Linked DNA regions of Homo sapiens: region 1 is linked to region 2. The links are contacts of gene promoters, found by promoter capture Hi-C in human tissues and cell types (Jung and others, 2019). All regions are on one chromosome and are shown on one strand. Each heading gives the region's core, a stretch centred on a gene start or on the middle of the fragment in contact. The rest is flanking DNA. Distances are from core to core; before and after follow the strand shown.

What was found. Contacts are between HindIII fragments. The study calls those that stand out against the background at their distance.
Region 1: a fragment that was not itself captured here is called in contact with the fragment with the promoter of TIMELESS in region 2 in 2 of the 25 tissues and cell types used here (H1 embryonic stem cells and dorsolateral prefrontal cortex).

Annotation. Positions count from the first base shown.
Region 1 is chr12:56,621,668-56,625,589 of GRCh38, reverse strand. The region is part of intron 1 of BAZ2A (bromodomain adjacent to zinc finger domain 2A); the gene reads left to right. Among named protein-coding and RNA genes, the nearest start is that of BAZ2A, 6.7 kb to the left of the region's middle. The HindIII fragment of the contact is 4,679 bases long and covers 275-3,922 here.
Region 2 is chr12:56,447,497-56,451,866 of GRCh38, reverse strand. TIMELESS (timeless circadian regulator) reads left to right here and starts at 2,441. Exons shown (of 29, transcript NM_003920.5): 1 at 2,441-2,557. It overlaps MIP (major intrinsic protein of lens fiber), which reads left to right. Exons shown (of 4, transcript NM_012064.4): 4 at 402-2,365. The coding sequence ends at 587. RefSeq lists enhancers at 2,698-2,787, 2,898-3,017, 3,040-3,560. The HindIII fragment of the contact is 11,879 bases long and covers 1,358-4,370 here.

The DNA of each region.
Region 1 (3,922 bases), core at 1,365-3,864, 170 kb before region 2:
GATGGTCTTCCTACTTTTAGTCTTTTGAGGTTGGACTCTGTAACCTGCCTCATGAATGGGGTCCTTAACCTGCCTGCTTAGCTCATATTTGGGGGTGGAAAGGGTGGAGTCCTTAACTGTTAGAGTTTAAATTCTGGCTGGGCACGGTGGCTCAGCCTGCAGTCGCAGCACTTTGGGAGGCTGAGGCGTGCGGATCACCTGAAGTCAGGAGTTCAAGACCAGCCTGACCAACATGGTGAAACCCTGTCTCTACTAAAAATATGAAAATTAGCCGGGTGTGATGGTGGGCGCCTGTAATCCCAGCTACTTGGGAGGCTGAGGCAGGAGAATTGCTTGAACCGGGGAGATGGAGGTTGCAGTGAGCAGAGATCGTGCCACTGCACCCCAGCCTGGGCAACAGAGCCACACTGTCTCAAAAAAAAAAAAAAAAAAAAAGAAATTCTAAGAAACAATCAGAGCTGAAAGAGGGAAATTACCTTAATATAACCTCTGGACTGTGGCTTTTAGTGTCCTGCAATTTCAGAGGCATTCCTGGTCTTCTGAGAGTAAAGTGACTGGAAATGTGGCAGAAAACTTAACCTGTAGTTTCTTTAATTAACAAATATATAAAAACCTATTATATGCCTCAAGTGTTCAGTTAAACCAAGTAGAATGTTTTATTAATTCAGAGCTTACGTTTATTTATTTTTTTATTTGGTTGAAAACGGTGGTGTGATCATAGCCCACTGCAGCCTCCAGGTCCTGGACTCAAATAATCCTCCCACCTCAGCCTCCGGAGAACCTGGCACTACAGGCATATGCCACCATGCCTAGCTAATTTATTGGCTTTTTACATTATCAGTACTTCCCTATTTTCAGGCCTTATTTTCTTCAAGGAATGGCTATTTAAGTACGTCAAGATTTGAGGCCTTTCTTCTCTCTTGAAATTTTTATCTCTGTGAAGAATGAAGCTGAGTTTTTTTTTTTTTTTTTTGTTCTCTGAAAATAGTAAGAGCAAAGCCCATGACCTTCATTGGATAAGTAAGCTGGTAGTGGCAGAAAAGGTAGATTTACTCATTCATTTCTTCAGTCCATGGACTCAACAAATATTTCCTTTGGTTCTTTTGTATACTTAGCACTAAATTAGGTGCTAGGGATATAATGGTGGAACTTATATCCAACTGATGCTGTGGAACCGACATAATGTAGAAGAAATAAGGACAGAGAACAGTCATCTTTGAATTCTTCTGAACAGCCTGGACGTGACAGTTTTCTTTGAGTAGCCCCCTCTTAGTATAATCTTCCTTCTTTCATTATCTTTGTTCTGCCTCACTTGGAGTCCTGACTAGGGAAGGTAGTTAAGGAGAGGATGGATATTTTGAGCCTCAGTCAGTATATGATATAGTTTGTCCGAGTCAGAGTTCAAGGGAAGCTTGTTACTAGGGCACTCAGAATGGGTTATCGTGATTGGAGAAGAGGGCATATTTATTCTGTGGCTTGGTACTTGGAATTTTTTTTTTTTTTTTAGTGTAGAGATAGGGTCTCACTGTGTTGCGCAGGCCAGTCTTGAATTCCTGGCCTCAAGTGATCCTGCTGAGGTTATAGGCATGAGCCACCTCTCCCAGCCTACATGGAACTCTTATTGGTGGAGGAACATGGCTTAGCCAGGGAGATGAGGTTTTTAGATACAAAAGCCAAAGCGTCCTCATTTGCAGTGTCAGGAACTGGGAACAGTGAAAACTTGGAACTTTCCCAAGGTGTGGGGCAGGAATGGGACAGCTTTTACATTAGAACAGGGTTTCTCAGCCTTGGCACTATTGATAACGTGGGCCAGATAATATCTTCGTTGTGGGGGGCGCTGTCCTGTTTGTTGAAGGACGCCTAGCAGCATCTTTGGCTTCTGCTTACTAGATGCCAGTAGCACATACCTTCAGAGATTACTAAATGTCCCCTACGGGGCAGAATTGCCCCTGATGAGAACCTCTGTATTAGAGTGTGGTGGGTAATCCAGAGATGTGTAGAGTTAAGAAATATCCTTCATGATGTTCACAATTACAAAGCTAAAATGTAGTGGTGTGATTTTTACTCTAGAATTTGCCTTTGCTGTTTAGTCAAGATAAACATTTGAAATCTCTCTCACCCCCCAACCCCATTTGTGAGATTTTGATGTACTACATGAGAAGAATGAACCCAAGAGCTGCAGGGACCACTGCAGTATCCAGCTGGAGGGTGTTAATGTGTCTTGTTGTCCTGGGGGGTAGCCTCAGAGGCTGGAGGGTTAGAATTGGTCAGGGAGGACACCTGTAACAGTGTTGCAATATATAATATTTATTTCAACACTTTGTGCATTGTCAGCCTTTTTCTTTTTTTTTTTTGAGATGGAGTCTCGCTCTGTCGCCCAGACTGGAGTGCAGTGACGCGATCTCGGCTCACTGCAACCTCCACCTCCCGGGTTCACGCCATTCTCCTGCCTCAGCCTCCCGAGTAGGTAGGACTACAGGTGCCCGCCACCACGCCTGGCTAATTTTTTCTATTTTTAGTAGAGACAGGGTTTCACCGTGTTAGCCAGGATGGTCTCGATCTCTTGACCTCGTGATCCGCTCACCTCGGCCTCCCAAAGTGCTGGGATTACACGAGCCACTGCTCTTGGTGTTGTCAGCCTTTTTCTATTAAACCATGTCACAGGCCCACAGAGTAGCAGCTCTTTGATTGGAACTGGGAGAAAAGCAACCTATTCGGCCCTGTGGGGAGGGCTTTATTGCTTCAAGCTTATAGGGCAATGTCCCTTACTCTTATAAATGAAACATAGGAGCTCTTAAAAGATCCATTTATGTATAGCTGGGACTGGGCTGGGTGCTTGAATGAATGTACTTCCTGGTATGAGAGTCATCTGCTACTCTAGGGGTTGGGCACTGGCTGATTTCTTTTCTCATTTGGTGAAAATCCTATTAGTTCAAAGGGAGATGCTCTCCTTTGCTTTACTGTTCTTACTAGCTCTGGATGGGAGGACAGAGTTTACCTTTAGGGTTTATTGTGAAAAGCATCTTGAGTAGGAAGGTTAAAATGAAATAAACCTAGGTTCATTGTTGAGAGGAGGTGTTCACATGTTTTTCGTATTCCCATACTGTGACATAATTAATTCCCATATTTAAGTGACATCTGAAATCAGGAGTCAAATTGTATATAAGGAAGTCTGGCTGGATCATCCCTAGTTTTAAATTATATTTATTTTATATGTAGACCGTTTAGACCTGATTATCTTTTTTTTTTGGAGATAGAGTGTTGCTCTGTCACCCAGGCTAGAGTGCAATGGTGCGATCTCAGCTCACTGCAACCTCCATCTCCTGGATTCAAGCAATTCTCCTGCCTCAGCCTCCTGAGTAGCTGGGATTACAGGTGCCCGCCACCACGCCCAGCTAATTTTTTGTAATTTTAATAGAGATGGGGTTTCGCCATGTTGGCCAGGCTGGTTTCGAACTCTTGACTTCAGGTGATCCACCCACCTTGGCCTCCCAAAGTGCTGGGATTACAGGCGTGAACCACTGCGCCTGGCCAGGCCTGATTATCTTTTTGAAAACTACACAGTCTTTTACTGTTTGTCTAATAATAGTAGCTAATGTAGTCCTGGTAAGGTGGCTCACGCCTGTAATCCCAGCACTTTGGGAGGTCAAGGTGGGAGAATTGCTTGAGGCCAGGAATTTGAGACCATCATGGGCAACATAGCGAGACCCTGTGTCTACAAAAAAATTTAAAAATTAGCCAGGTGTGGTGGTGAGCACCTGTAGTCCTAGCTACTTGGGAAGCTGAGGCAGGAGGATTACTGGAGCCCAGGAGTTCCAGGCTGCAGTGAGCTATGATCATGCCACTGCACACCACTCTGGATGACAGAGTGAGACTCTGTCTCAAGAAGAAAAAAAAAAAACTAACGTTTATGGAGTGCTTG
Region 2 (4,370 bases), core at 1,192-3,691:
TTTCTCCCTGTTGGTCAGGCTGTTCTCAAATGGCTGACCTTGTGATCCGCCCGTCTTGTGATCCGCCCGTCTCAGCCTCCCAAAGTGCTGGGATTACAGGCATAAGCCACTGCGCCTGTCCAAAAATATTTAATATGGTAAATTTTATATGTGTTTTACCACAATGTATAAAATTTTTTTGAAAGCAACATACAAACTAGTGCAAATTGATAACAAATAGAATATACACATGCTAAGGTGTGGGATAAAGGAGTAATTTGATGAATCAGAAAATAAATGGTGAGTTTATTGTAGATATCAAGTGTACAATATCTTGTTTTCCACTAAGGTGGCTGGAAAAAGAGCAGCGTTGCTACTCTGTCCCCTCCCCAAGCCTGAGTATTCCTTTTCTCTTTCTACAGGTGTACTGGGTAGGCCCAATCATTGGAGGGGGTCTGGGCAGCCTCCTGTACGACTTTCTTCTCTTCCCCCGGCTCAAGAGTATTTCTGAGAGACTGTCTGTCCTCAAGGGTGCCAAACCCGATGTCTCCAATGGACAACCAGAGGTCACAGGGGAACCTGTTGAACTGAACACCCAGGCCCTGTAGAAGCTCCAGCTGAATAGAGGGAGTAGAAAGCTTCTGAGTTTACGTGGAGGGGTTTAGCCAGCCCCTAGATGAAGAAAGAGACTGTGGGGAGGGTCATGTACTTCTTTATTTTTTAACTTATGTATGTGGTTGTTTTTTTTTTTTTTTTCCTTTTGCTGTGTGAAATCTTTCAAGTTGCATTCATGAGCTGGTTGGTGCAAACTTCCCTTCCTCCCCATCCCACCACCCTTCGCCGTGTGTGCTGATTGTGCATATGAATGTGAGTGTGGCTGTGTCTGAGTTTTGGGGCATGAGAGCTAAGGAAGCAAAAAGAGGTGCCATCCTATACCTCCCTTCCTCGACCCAGTATGGTGAGTACTGGGTAACCGACACCTTAAGTTTCTGGCCTTTACCCTGCTGCCAGTCAAGTGTGTGGCTCTTGATTTCTGAGGGAACAGAGAAGCAGGGAGTTACTCCTCACACGAGGCAGATGGAGAGAAGTGGAGGAGACAAGGCTTCCAAGGGTTAGGAGAAGGGACTCAAGGGAGGTGGGTGGTGAAAACGGAGTATTAGCCCCAGATCAGGATGTAGGTGTACCGAAGAATTGGGGGGAAGTTAATGGGAATATATAGCCTACTTATCTTAGGGATGCTTGCCCCAGGGACTTGGGTGGGGAAGTAGCTCTGAGAAAAGTGAACACTAGGATTTAGCTGTTCTGTAAAGCCACGTAAACCTGTCTACATCCGCTGGCTGGTTGTGTTCATTCTGACATAATGGATCTCTTCAGAGGTCCTGGGCCAAAGAGCTTCCAACCTAAATAGAGCTTGGGCAAGCCTAGAATCTAGAAAAATTAAGCAGCTTAACTGGTCAGCCTGACATCCACTGTTGTGGCTGCCTGGCAGATGGTATTTAAGCCCCACAATTGTTCCCTAAGGCCAACACAGGAAATCTGATTCCTGGAGCAAATAAATGAACGGGTGGTAGTAGGGGGCATGAGGGGAGAGGCTTTGACTCTGTTCTAATTTATTTAGAGCAAATCAAAACACTCCTCAAATGGCATCTTTCTGCTTTTATCACTAGTTCCGTGTTTTTTTTCTTGTTTTGTGTCTGTGTATTTTCATTTCTCTGTCATCCGTCCTTTCATCTTGAAGCAAATCTCTTCTAACTCCCTCATACCCCAGAAATTGATTCCTTCTATTCAAATGCTTAATAATTCAGGAGATTATTATTTGTTTGAGCCCTATCTTCTTTTTTTTTTTGAGAGGGGGTCTTACTATGTTGACCAGGTTGGAGTGCAATGGATATTCACAGGCACGATCATCGCACACTACAGTCTAGAAATCCTGGGCTCAAGCGATCTTCCTGCTTCAGCCTCCCCAGTAGCTGGGATTACAGGGGGCCAGAGCACAGCCCTATTTTCTTTTCCTTTTGGCAAGATCATCTCAGCAGAGGCCAGAAGAGACCCTCAACTGTTCAATGAATATTTACGGTTGCTTTCTTCCTTTTATGAGCCTCTTGCATACTTTGAAAGCTTTAAATTTATACCTATAATACAACGGACATCCCCTATCCCAGAAGACCATTCCTCCCTGTACTTCAGCTCTTTACTTCCTCCCAAATAAAACCTAACTTTTCTAACTAACTATTTAAGACTTGGAATAGTCCGCTTGACTAGAAGAAGGGGAAGAATGTTTGTAAATTCACCTCTAATCGGACTTTGATTCTACTATAATTCAGCAGAAAATTCATAGCGCTGTGATTTTTAGATCGACCTCACATAAAACAGTCCCTGCACTCGCTTCCCTTTTCCTTCCTTCTTCACCAATCTCCGCCCCAGTTCGCTCGGAGTCACGTGGACCAGCCCGGCTCGCCCCGCCTCGCTCTTCGCGCAGGCGGGGACCGGTCCAGCTGAGCCTGGTGGCGGAAAGGCTGCGGCCCCGCGCCAGAGGGCCGGTGGCTCCTCCGGGCTTCTGAGGACCCGCAGGGAGCGGGTGAGTGAGTGTGTGGCGAGAGGGCGCTAAGCGGACACGGGGATCCTTTCGAAGCTATGGGGGCATTCTCGGGAAACGCTGAGTCCCTTTTCCCGCCACCCGGTTTAGAGCCAGGGGGCGGGGCTCGTGCTGCAGGCGCGCACGCGCAATTCTGTACTCTGCTCCTTAGTCTCCCGCGCCGCGTTCCCGGGTCTCACCGGACGCGGGCTTAGCCCTACGCTGCTCCGCACAGCTTGGGTCTCCCGCGGGATGGGGTTGTGATGGAAAGGGGCTTGGAATTCCTGAATTAGAACAGAAAGTGCCTGAGGGAGTTCCACTTCGGAGCTTAGCATCTAGTTGAGACCTCCTGAAAAAAACCGGTGTGTGGCCTGGCGGTCAGCAGTGGTCGGAATTCACAGGCCGCTTTACTTATATCGTGGGTTTTATGGAACGGATTTCTCACTCCCTCCCTTCGTTGCCTTGTTCGGGTTTGTCACCTGGACCTCAGCCGCTAATGAAGCTTTTTTCCTTGAGCCTCTCAATTCTTTGCCATTCGTGCTTCGACTAGTACTTTCAATTTTTTATTTATTTTATTTTATTTTGAGACGGAGTCTCGTTCTGTCGCCCAGGATGGAGTGCAGTGGCGCCATCTCGGCTCACTGCAACCTCCGCCTCCCGGGTTCAAGCGATTCTCTTGCCTCAGCTTCCTGAGTAGCTGGGATTACAGGCGCGCGCCACCATGCCCGGCTAATTTTTGTATTTTTTTTAGTAGAGATGGGGGTTTCACCTTATTGGTCAGGATGATCTCAAACTCCTGACTTCGTGATCCGCCCGCCTCGGCCTCCCAAAGTGCTGGGATTATAGGCGTGAGCCACCGCGCCTGGCCTGTTTGTTTTTTTTGGTTGTTTTGTTTTGTTTTGTTTTTGAGATGGAGTCTGGCTCTGTCGCCCAGGCTGGAGTGCAGTGGTCCGATCTCGGCTCACTGCAACCTCCGCCTCCCCAGTTCAAGCGATTCTCCTGCCTCAGCCTCCCCAGGAGCTGGGATTACAGCTGCCCGCCACCACGCCCGGCTAATTTTTGTATTTTTAGTAGAGATGGGGTTTCACCATGTTGGCCAGGCCGGTCTCGAACTCCTGACCTCAAATGATCCGCCCGCGTCGGCCTCCCACAGTGCTGGGATTACGGGTGTGAGCCACCACACCCGGCCCTACTAGTACTTTGTACAAAGTAAAGGTAGATCATCTGATGTTAAATTTAAAACTCCTCTTTGACCACCCACAGTTAGCCTTAAATCCGTAGGTGGGTGTCTGTGGCCTCTCAGTCTGGCCCTGACCCTCTCAATCTCATTTTGTAAATCTCTTACGCACCTGACTCCTGGCCACGTGGAAAGATTGTGGCTGCCCTCTTTCATATCTCAGTACTTAGTTCCTGCTGTTCCTTCTGCTTGGAAGATCTTGACACTGCTCTGCCAAGCGAACTTCTCTTTGAAGACTGAGCTTAATTGTCCCTCTGAAAATCAATGTATCCAGCTTCCTATGCCAAGTTAGTCACTTCTTCCTGTGTGTCCCTGAAGTTTTTTACCCCCCTCTATTACCAGGGGCACTGATACAGCTCAATAAAAGATCAATAAAAGGTTACTGAGCTCCTAACATGTACCATGCACTGTGCTTAGCGCCAGGCTTACAGAGATGAGTAGGATGGAGAGTTCCCGACCCTTAAGGAACTCAAGTCCTAAGGAAAACACATGTAATTGAGTCTTCTGTGGTTACAGTGAAAGGGTCATCAAGAAGTCCTTCCTGGCTTCCTTCCTCCTCTCACTGCACTCACACCATCT